4 separate regions of the Homo sapiens genome follow, and regions 1, 2 and 4 are each linked to region 3. The links are contacts of gene promoters, found by promoter capture Hi-C in human tissues and cell types (Jung and others, 2019). All regions are on one chromosome and are shown on one strand. Each heading gives the region's core, a stretch centred on a gene start or on the middle of the fragment in contact. The rest is flanking DNA. Distances are from core to core; before and after follow the strand shown.

What was found. The method cuts DNA at HindIII sites, captures the fragments that hold promoters and counts their contacts. A contact is called where the count stands out against the background at its distance.
Region 1: a contact is called between the fragment with the promoter of DMXL2 here and the fragment with the promoter of ONECUT1 in region 3, in 1 of the 25 tissues and cell types used here (heart right ventricle).
Region 2: a fragment that was not itself captured here is called in contact with the fragment with the promoter of ONECUT1 in region 3 in 1 of the 25 tissues and cell types used here (dorsolateral prefrontal cortex).
Region 4: a fragment that was not itself captured here is called in contact with the fragment with the promoter of ONECUT1 in region 3 in 1 of the 25 tissues and cell types used here (dorsolateral prefrontal cortex).

What each region holds. Positions count from the first base shown.
Region 1 is chr15:51,621,354-51,624,053 of GRCh38, reverse strand. DMXL2 (Dmx like 2) reads left to right here and starts at 1,283. Exons shown (of 44, transcript NM_001378457.1): 1 at 1,283-1,595. The coding sequence starts at 1,509. RefSeq lists a silencer at 1,146-1,365 and an enhancer at 1,736-2,145. The HindIII fragment of the contact is 6,819 bases long and covers 1-2,700 here.
Region 2 is chr15:53,800,484-53,803,183 of GRCh38, reverse strand. No RefSeq gene overlaps it. Among named protein-coding and RNA genes, the nearest start is that of WDR72, 42 kb to the right of the region's middle. The HindIII fragment of the contact is 9,303 bases long and covers 1-2,700 here.
Region 3 is chr15:52,788,959-52,791,658 of GRCh38, reverse strand. It overlaps ONECUT1 (one cut homeobox 1), which reads left to right and starts at 1,323. Exons shown (of 2, transcript NM_004498.4): 1 at 1,323-2,700. The coding sequence starts at 1,775. It overlaps LOC105370824 (a long non-coding RNA gene), which reads right to left and starts at 1,229. Exons shown (of 2, transcript XR_001751550.2): 1 at 1-1,229. RefSeq lists enhancers at 1-267, 268-1,036, 1,033-1,327 and a silencer at 1,216-1,285. The HindIII fragment of the contact is 12,558 bases long and covers 1-2,700 here.
Region 4 is chr15:53,891,163-53,893,862 of GRCh38, reverse strand. It overlaps a transcript of UNC13C not described here. Among named protein-coding and RNA genes, the nearest start is that of UNC13C, 86 kb to the left of the region's middle. The HindIII fragment of the contact is 3,102 bases long and covers 1-2,700 here.

The DNA of each region.
Region 1 (2,700 bases), core at 34-2,533, 1.2 Mb after region 3:
CCCCCACTGCATGCAGAGTGAAATCTGGGCTTCTTGGAGCATTCAAGACTCTCCATAATATGTTTTGGTAGGCCAAGAGTTAGACCACTTGGATACCTTGATCTCTTGCTAAGTATTATTTACTTTCCCTACCCTATAAATCATCTGCCTCAAACATTAATCTTTGTACCTTCAACACCCCCTCTATTTTCTGTACTGTATTTGCAGCATTTCTTGTCTATCTCAGCCTGTCAAAATTAAACTCAGCGTTTATGTCAGGTTATGTCTCCATAATGCCTTATCCACGCCCTTAGTCAACATTCTTCTTCCTCTTCTGTGGTGCATAAAGACTTTTATATCTCAATCACACCACCTTTGGCGTTCTGCCTGGTTTTACAGATAGTTATGTCTTGGTGTCCCCTACTTCCTTACCCTGTGATTTAAGCATAGTATGGGTTAGAACATTTGCCATGAATTGGCCTGTGGCAGGGAGCTGATGATCCTTGTTATCAACCATTCAAAGTTTAGCAGATAGTTTGGAAAATCAGGCGATTCTGCTAATTCATGAAATTACTCATGAAAAAAAGTCGAAAGGAGTCACCCGTCTCTAAGGCGGCTTTTTGCTGTCTAGAATAACCGTGACAAAAGGTGGGAGCAAAATAATTAGCTTTCAGGGGAGTATGGCTTCTCTAAATAGTTGCAAGATGCCTACATTGTTTATGTAAAATAAAATATCTTATGTACTGCACTTTCGAAAAGACTGAAGATATCTAAGATATCTCCAGGTGGAAATTCCCGGTGACGGGTGTCCTTCTGAGGTCAACGGCACTGACCATTGCACACTGTATTCTGGAATACGTTCAACACAGCAAAACCGGCTCGTGGCGCGTCCCCGGCGTCCGACTGCTGCGTGGCCCCGAGCGACCTGCACCCCACTCGCCCCCGCCCCCACCTCCGCCCCAGTCCGCAGCGGCTACAGCCCGGGAGGCTCCAAGGGAACTCCCGCACGTCTGCGCGCGCAATCACGGGACGGCGGGTCGGCGTGGCGCGCGCAATTGCCCTGGAAACCACGGCGCGCGCACGCGCAAACGCGGGTGATGGGGGGAAGAAAGACTGAGCTGAGAGCTTTGCCGCGGGGGGAGGGCTCTACCTCGCTCCCCCGCGGTGGGCGCGCGCGCTGGCCCGCTCCCTTGCTGCACGCTCCCGGCTCGCGCGTTCCCCCCGGTGCCCTCCCCCGCCTCACAAGCACCCTTGCCCTCCCGCATTTGTGCGCCGGTGCAGCAGGCAGTGGGAACATCCGGGCATTTCCGCAGCTGAGCGGCGACCCGGGCGGCGGCGGCGGTCGAGGAGCTCCCATGGCAGGGACGAGGCGGAGGGAAGGCGAAAGGGGGGCGAGGAGTTAAGCCAGAGCCTCCGCGGGGCGGGTTTCCGAGGGAGGCACAGAGGGAAACGGCTCTCGCAGCCCGAGGAGGGTCAGGCGCGGAGCTTGTCGCACCTCCCGCGCATTCTGTCCAGCCCGGGCTCCGGAGATGCATCTGCATCAGGTCCTCACCGGAGCTGTCAACCCTGGAGACAACTGCTACTCCGTGGGCAGCGTCGGGGATGTCCCCTTCACGGTGAGCGGCGGCCGGGAGCCCTAGGGGAAGATACCAGGGGCCAGACGCGGGGGCAGGGACCTCCTGTCCAGGGCGCACGCCTCCTCAGGAGGCTGTGAGATGTTGGTGGGCCCCACCCGTGGCCCCTTTGCAGCCTTGGGGTTTAGTTCCCCCTGGGACCCGTGGGACCGTGGGTCCTGCGTCTGGTGTAGGAAATCACCCGTTAGGGGAAAGGCTTAGGAATCCACCGCACTCTCCACCCCAAGCAAACGGGCCTGAGGTGACTGGACTAGAAGGCTCCTCCTAGGGCGGCCCTTCGGTCTGCGGTGGAGGAAAGTGGTGGTGCGGCTGAAACCCCAGAGCGTCCGTTTCGCAGCTGCTCTCGGCGTGGAGGCGAAGAGACTTGGTGTTGGTCTCGGAGCGTGGAGGTGAAGAGACTTGGTGTTGGTCTCGGAGCGTGGAGGCGATGCTGCGCCTTGGCTCCCCCTGCCCGCTGTGCTAGGGCAGCGAGGAGCTGCTGGAGTCTGTGGCTTTAAGCCTGACTCTGTATCTCCTGATAATGCAGGATCTTAATTCCAACAAAAAGATAGAAAAATTCATCCTCCGCGCCCGAAAGATTTAGAATGGAAAGGTTAGAGTCACAGTGGCTTGGAGAGCTGTCTCATTTATCAGGAGGTCGTAGTTTGGTAATCCTCCTAGATAATATTTTAATCTGTAAGGTAGCCTTTTTTTTAATATAGTAAGGCAATGTGAAAAATTTACAACAGTGCTTGTTTGAGAAAAGTGTATGTATACATAACGTTTTAGAATCTCCTTAAAAGCTAGATGAAGTAGACATGTTTCTCAAGGAGATTGGACTCATCAGTCCTTTTTGAGAGTGGAAATGTTTAAACCAAGCCTTGGAGCTTCGTTTACTCATAGATAGACTCCCATAAATTGAGTTCTTTTTTAAAGAATGAAATTTATACATGGTCTTCCTTATAAGGAACTGTAGGCAGCCAGACCTTTATTAAATATATTTTGTAAACTGTTCTTCTTGATAAAACTGGAAATTCCGTAATGGTATGCTTTTTAGACAAGGAAAACCCTTTGATGTCTGCTTTCCAACAGTGTTTTTAAAACTGCG
Region 2 (2,700 bases), core at 180-2,679, 1.0 Mb before region 3:
CATAAATATTTCTATATGTAATCACCTGTATCTCTTTTAAATTAAACATGAGTTCTTACTAATGTAATCCATTACCATATGGATCATTCTAGCCTTCTCCCCTTGCTTATCTGTATATTCCCAAAACAATGCTGAGAAACCTGGCTCCCACCATCCACCATTCATTGTTCAGTTCTAGTATAATGTATGGCAGTATGAGAATCATTACTCCATATCCTTAGGGGAAACAAACGTATCAACTGCACATAGTGCTTATGTACAGTTCCTTTTGCCTTTAGTCTCACAGACTCCACTTATTTCCAAAGTTACTTAGGTCAGCAATTTTCCCCAAATCCCTCAGTGTGCTTGTTTCATACATTTGTGATACAGCTAGATTATCTTCTCACAATATGCATTTTTTCCTGTGACTCCAAAACACCCTGATAGATTTTTTAATTTGCATACATTAACATTTACTCCTTTTATTGTCAAGTTCTACGAGTTTTGACAAATGCATAATGTCAAGTATCCACCGTCACAGTATCATACAGGATTGTATTACCACCCTAAAAATCCCACATACTTCACCTATTCATCCCCCCAACAACAACCCCCACACACACCAAAATCCTTAGCAATCACTGATATTTTTCTTATCTCTGTAGTTTTAGCTATTCCAGAATGTCATATATATTTGCAAACATTTTCAATTTGGCTTTCTGCACTTAAAAATGTGCATTTAAGTTTCTTCCATATCTTTTCATGGCATAATCGCTCATTTCCTCTTATAATTGAATAATATCCTATTGTAAGGCCGGGCGCAGTGGCTCACGCCTGTAATCCCATCCCTTTAGGAGGCTGAAGTAGGTGTATCATCTGAGGTCAGGAGTTCGAGACCAGCCAGACCAACATGGAGAAACAGAGCAAAAAAATAGATGTGTGTCCTAACTAAAAATTCAAAATTAGCCAGGTCTAGTGGCACATACCTGTAATCTCAGCTACTCGGGAGGCTGAGGCAGGAGAATCGCTTGAACCCGGGAGATAGAGGTTGCAGTGAGCTGAGATTGCGCCATTGCACTCTAGCCTGGGCAACAAGAGTAAAAAAAAAAACAACAACATATATATATATATATATATATATGTCCAAAATCAGTTTTACTGAGACAAAAACCAAATGTTGGCCAACTTGTGTTCTCTCTGGAGGTGAGAAGTTATTCCTTGCCTCTTCTAGTTTCTGGCCAATGCCAGCAATCCTCGCTTGACTTGTGGCTGCCTCACTTCCATCCCTGCCTCCCTGATCCCGTTGCCTCTTCTTCATCCTTTCATATATATATATAAACACACACACACTATTGTATGGCTATACCACTATTTGTTTATCCACATACTTTTGTGTTTTTAAAAAAGTTTTCCAGCTTCATTGAGGCATAATTGACAAATGAAATTGTATAAATTTAAGGTGTATAATGTGATAATTTGATATGTGTACATTGTGAAACGATTATCACTATTAGGTTAGTTAACACATCAATCACTTCACCTAGTTACCTTTTGTGTGTACGTGTGTGGTATGAACAATTTAAGATCTCTATTAACAATTTAAAGTGTACAATACAGTATCATTAACTATAGTCACCATGCTGTACATTAGATCCCCAGAATGTATTCATCTTATAACTGAAAATTTGTGCCCTTTCACCAACATTTCCCCATTTCCTCTAGCCCCAGCTCCTGGCAATCACCATTCTATTATCTGTTTCTATGGGTTCAACTTTTTAAAATTCTACATGTAAGTAAGGTAATACAGTATTTGTGTTTGTCTGACTTGTTTTGCTTTGCATAATTCTCTCAGGATTCATCTATGTTGTCACAAATTGTGGTATTTCCTTCTTTTTTAAGGCTGAATGATATTCCATTTTCTGTATATAACACAATTTCTTTCCCTATTCATCTATCAACTGACGTTTAGGTTGTTCCCATGTCTTGGCTACTGTGAATAATGCTGCAATGAACATGAGAGAGCAGATTCTCTTAGAGATACTAATTTCATTTCCTTTGGATACATGCCCATGAGTGGGATTGCTGGGTCATATGGTAGTTCTGGTTTTAATTTATTTTTTGAGGAACCTCCATACTGTTTTCCATAATGGATGTACCAATTTACATTCCCACCAACAGTGTACAAGGATTCCCTTTTCTCCACATCCTTGCCAACATTTGTCTCTTGTCTTCTTGATGATAGCCATTCTAACTGGTGTGGTTATATCTCTCGTTGCAGATTTTATTTGCATTTCCCTGATGATTAGTGATGTTGACCACCTTTTCATAATATGCTTTTGTGTATTAGCCTTGTATCCCTTGCTATCATCCCCTATTAGTTTCAGGGGTTGGTTTTTGGGTGGTTTTGGGGGTTTGTGGTGTGTTTTATTGGTCAACTAATTGCAATTGTTTAGATACAGAATCATGTCATCTGTGAATCAAAATGGTTTTATTCCTTTTTTTCCTAATGTGTATCACTTTTATTTCATTTTATTTTCTTATTACACTATCTATGAGTTCTAGCACAAGGCTGAATAGAAGTGGTGAGAAAAGCCATAGTCACCTTGTTGCTCCTAATTTTAGGAGAAAATTATTTAGTTTTTCACTAGTAAGTATCACGTTGGCTGTAGGTTGTTTTAGATGTTCTTTATAAGGTTGAGAAAGCTCGCCCAATTCTAGTTT
Region 3 (2,700 bases), core at 74-2,573:
CCTGGGGCTGAGGCTCGGCGCTGACCCGGCCATAACTGCCACGGGCTGGACAATGGGCACATCTGTCCTTTCTCTGAGGGATGAAAGCACCTAAGCGGACACGGCTCTGCCTTTTGTTGCGGATTTTTTTTCTTTCTTTTGTAAATGAAAGAAAGCCGCGGCATGTGGCGGCCGGGTGTACGTCTCAAACTGGGGGCCTCCGCACACGTCCCCACCAGGCCCAAAGACCAGGTTCGATTCCAGATTGGAGCGTGACTGTGGGAAGGGCGAAATTACTCCCGAAGCTGAATTGATTTTCAAATCTGGAGGCGTCTCTCGGGGACGCCGGGAAAAGGGCGTCCCTAGGGGCCAAGCGGAGACCCGCGCGCCGGCGTCCACCCTGTCTGCGTCAGTACTTCTGGAAAGCAACCGCCTCCGGGTGCTTTAGCAGGAGGGCCTTGGGAGTAACCGCAGGGACGGCCCGAGCCTCCACGGCCCCACCAGCACCCGGAAGTTAACATGGGTACCCTCCAGGGCACTCCCTCCGCTCTCCCTCGCCCCCCTCCACAGGCCGAGTCATCGGCGAAGCGGACGCACAGCCTTAATTATGAGCTGAGCGGGAGAAGGAGCCAGGCGGCGGGGGACAGTGAGGTATGGCCCGAACTGGGATTCTTGGCACTGATTACTCCTCTCCCCAGGGCATGGATGAGAAAGGGTGGGCAAGTATGTATCTGGGAGGACGAAGGGTGCCGGGTCAACGGCCGCCAAACGGACCCAGCCCTTTAAGCAATCTGCACCCCACCCCACCCCAACCCCCATCCCCCAATAGGCCGTGAATTCAAGGGTGGGAAAGCGCACTCCCAGCAGCCCCCCGGGAAATAAAGCTTAGTGGGCTAGAGCCGAAGGGGTGATGACACAGTCCCCAGCTCCCCGGGCAAGCTGCACCGGGAAGCAGCAACTGGAGAGAGAGGGGCGATGTCTCCAAGCACAGCACTCCAGCCGCTAGAAGCCCGACACGAGCGTCCCCGGGCTGGGAGGACAGAGCCCACTCAAGCAAGGGAGGCGAGCGAGCCAGGCGCGAGTCTCCTGGGATTGCAGCGGCGGCCCCAGGTCGCGCTCTGCGCCAATCTTTCGCACGTGCCCGCAGCTCCCTGGCCATCCAGCGCCGCAGGGAAGGCGCTGGGCCCCCTCCTTCATTTGTACCGGGACGCCAAGGGCCTGGCGCGCCGCGACCTAGGGGGCGGGGGCGGGCCTCGCGCATGCGCGCTGCGCCTGGCGGGCGTGAGGGCGGGCCGCTGCGGCGGCGGCGGCGGCGGCTACCGAACCGCGGCCACAGAGTCTGTAACAGTAACAGAGCCATGGCTCAAGCTGGCCAGCGGGGCGGGCAGGCAGCAGACGCGGCAGGCGCGCGGGCCGCGGCAGGGGAGCCGGAGACCTCAGAATTTTAAGAAAGAGAGGGGCGAGAGGTGGCCGAGGCGGGCGGGCTGGGGCACTGCGCTCTCCCAACGGCGCGGATCCTCTTTGGAAATTAATATTAAAAAAAAAAAAGCCGAGGACGCAGAGGGGAAGGTGGGGGGTAAGAGGGAAGGCGAGACACACACACACACACACACGCACACGCACACACGGACACACACACACGGAGAGAGAGAGAGAGAGAGACAGAGCCCCACAGTGAGAGGAAGGAAGGCAACAGTCGCCAGCAGCCGATGTGAAGACCGGACTCCGTGCGCCCCTCGCCGCCTCTGCCTGGCCACATCGATGTTGTGTCCGCCGCCTGCTCGCCCGGATCACGATGAACGCGCAGCTGACCATGGAAGCGATCGGCGAGCTGCACGGGGTGAGCCATGAGCCGGTGCCCGCCCCTGCCGACCTGCTGGGCGGCAGCCCCCACGCGCGCAGCTCCGTGGCGCACCGCGGCAGCCACCTGCCCCCCGCGCACCCGCGCTCCATGGGCATGGCGTCCCTGCTGGACGGCGGCAGCGGCGGCGGAGATTACCACCACCACCACCGGGCCCCTGAGCACAGCCTGGCCGGCCCCCTGCATCCCACCATGACCATGGCCTGCGAGACTCCCCCAGGTATGAGCATGCCCACCACCTACACCACCTTGACCCCTCTGCAGCCGCTGCCTCCCATCTCCACAGTCTCGGACAAGTTCCCCCACCATCACCACCACCACCATCACCACCACCACCCGCACCACCACCAGCGCCTGGCGGGCAACGTGAGCGGTAGCTTCACGCTCATGCGGGATGAGCGCGGGCTGGCCTCCATGAATAACCTCTATACCCCCTACCACAAGGACGTGGCCGGCATGGGCCAGAGCCTCTCGCCCCTCTCCAGCTCCGGTCTGGGCAGCATCCACAACTCCCAGCAAGGGCTCCCCCACTATGCCCACCCGGGGGCCGCCATGCCCACCGACAAGATGCTCACCCCCAACGGCTTCGAAGCCCACCACCCGGCCATGCTCGGCCGCCACGGGGAGCAGCACCTCACGCCCACCTCGGCCGGCATGGTGCCCATCAACGGCCTTCCTCCGCACCATCCCCACGCCCACCTGAACGCCCAGGGCCACGGGCAACTCCTGGGCACAGCCCGGGAGCCCAACCCTTCGGTGACCGGCGCGCAGGTCAGCAATGGAAGTAATTCAGGGCAGATGGAAGAGATCAATACCAAAGAGGTGGCGCAGCGTATCACCACCGAGCTCAAGCGCTACAG
Region 4 (2,700 bases), core at 32-2,531, 1.1 Mb before region 3:
CGTTCACTCCCCTTGAAAGGGGTGCTGAAGCCAGGGACCCAAGTGGTCTGGCTCTGTGGGCCCCATGCCATGGAGCCCAGCAAACTAAGATCCACTGGCTTGAAATTCTTGCTGCCAGCACAGCAGCAGTCTGAGATGGACCTGGGATGCTTGAGCTTGGTGGGGGGAGGGACATCCACTATTGCTGAGGCTTGTGTAGGCAGTTTTACCCTCAGAGTGTAAACAAAGCTGCCAGGAAGTTCAAACTGGGCGGAGCCCACTGCAGCTCAGCAAGGCTGCTGTGGCCAGACTGCCACATTTCTGCTCTCTGGGCAGGGCATCTCTGAAAAAAAGGCAGCAGCCCCAGTCAGGGACTTATAGATAAAACCCCCATCTCCCTGGAACAGAGCACCTGGGGGAAGGGGTGGCTATGGGTGCAGCTTCAGCAGATTTAAACATTCCTGCCTCACAGCTCTGAAGAGAGCAGCAAACCTCCCAGCACAGCATTCAAGCTCTGTTAAGGGTCAGAATGCCTCCTCAAGTGGGTCCCTGACCCCCGTGTATCCTGACTGGGAGATAACTCCCAGTAGGGGCTGACAGACACCTCATACAGGAGAGCTCTGGCAGGCATCTAGCAGGTGCCCCTCTGGGACAAAGCTTCCAGAGAAAAGAACAGGCAGTAATCTTTGCTGTTCTGCAGACTTCGCTGGTGATATCCAGGCAAACAGGGTCTGGAGTGGACCTCAGAAAACTCCAGCAGATCTTCAGCAGAGGAGCCTGACTGTTAGAAGGAAAACTAACAAACAGAAATGAATAGCAAGTCTACTCAAAGACCCCATCTGAAGGTCACCAACATCAAAGACCAAAGGTAGATAAATCCACAAAGATGGGGGGAAACAGCTCAAAAAGGCGGAAAACTCCAAAAACCAGAACACCACTTCTCCTCCAAAGGATCACAAATCCTCACCAGCAAGGGGACAAAACTTGATGGAGAATGAGTTTGATGAATTGACAAAAGTAAGCTTCAAAAGGTGGGTAATAACAAACTCCTCTGAGCTAAAGGAGTATGTTCTAATCCAATGCCAGGAAGCTAAGAACTTTGAAAAAAGGTTAGATGAATTTCTAACTAGAATAACCAGTTTAGAGAACATAAATGACCTGATGGAGCTGAAAAACACAGCACGAGAACTTCATGAAGCATACAGAAGTATCTATAGCTGAATCAATCAAGCGGAAGAAAGGATATCAGAGACTGAAGATCAACTTAATGAAATAAAGTGAGAAGACAAGATTAGAGAAAAAATAAAAAGGAATAAATAAAGCCTCCAAGAAACATGGGACTATGTGAAAAGACTAAATGTACATTTGATTGGTGTACCTGAAAGTGACAGGGAAAATGGAACCAAGCTGGAAAACACTCTTCAGGATATTATCCAGGAGAACTTCCCCAACCTAGCAAGACAGGCCAACATTCAAATTCAGGAAATACAGAGAACACCACAAAGATACTCCTCGAGAAGAGCAACCTCAAGACACACAATCATCAGATTCACCAAGGTTGAAATGAAGAAAAAAATGTTCAGGGCAGCAGAGAAAAAGGTTGGGTTACCCACAAAGGGAAGCCCATTAGACTAACAGCAGATCTCTCTGCAGAAACCCTACAAGCCAGAGGAGAGCGGGGGCCAATACTCAACATTCTTTAAGAAAAGAATTTTCAACCCAGAATTTCATATCCAGCCAAACTAAGCTTTATAAGTGAAGGAGAAATAAAATCCTTTACAGACAAGCAAATGCTGAGAGATTTTGTCACCACCTGGTGGTGGTGTAAGGCTCTTGCCTTACAAGAGCTCCTGAAGGAAACACTAAACTTGGAAAGGAACAACCGGTACCAGCCACTGCAAAAACATACCAAATTGTAAAGAACATCAACACTACGAAGAAACTGCATCAACTAATGGACAAAATAACCAGCCAGCATCATAATGACAGGATCAAATTCACATATAACAATATTAACTTTAAATGTTAATGGGCTAAATGCCCCAATTAAAAGACACAGACTGGCAAATTGGATAAACAGTCAAGACCCATCGGTGTGCTGTATTCAGGAGACCCATCTCACATGCATTGACACACATAGGCTCAAAATAAAGGGACAGAGGAATATTCAGCAAGCAAATGGAAAGCAAAAAAGAGCAGGAGTTGCAATCCTAATCTCAGATAAAAACAGACTTTAAAGCAACAAAGATCAAAAGAGACAAAAAAGGACATTATATAATGGTAAAGGGATCAATTCAAAAAGAAGAGCTAACTATCTTAAATATATATGTACCCAATACAGGAGCACCCACATTCATAAAGCAAGTTCTTAGAGACCTACAGACTTAGACTCCCACACAATGATAGTGGGAGACTTTAACATCCCACTGTCAATATTAGACAAATCAACGAGACAGAAAATTAACAAGGATATCCAGGACCTGAACTCAGCTCGGGAACAAGTGGACCTAATAGATATGCACAGAACTCTCCACCCCAAATCAACAGAATAGACATTCTTCTCAGCACCTCATCGCACTTGTTCTAAAATTGACCACATAATGGGAAGTAAAACACTTCTCAGCAAATGCAAAACAATGGAAATCATAACAAACAGTCTCTCAGAACACAGTGCAATCAAATTAGAACCCAGGATTAAGAAACTCACTCAAAACCACACAA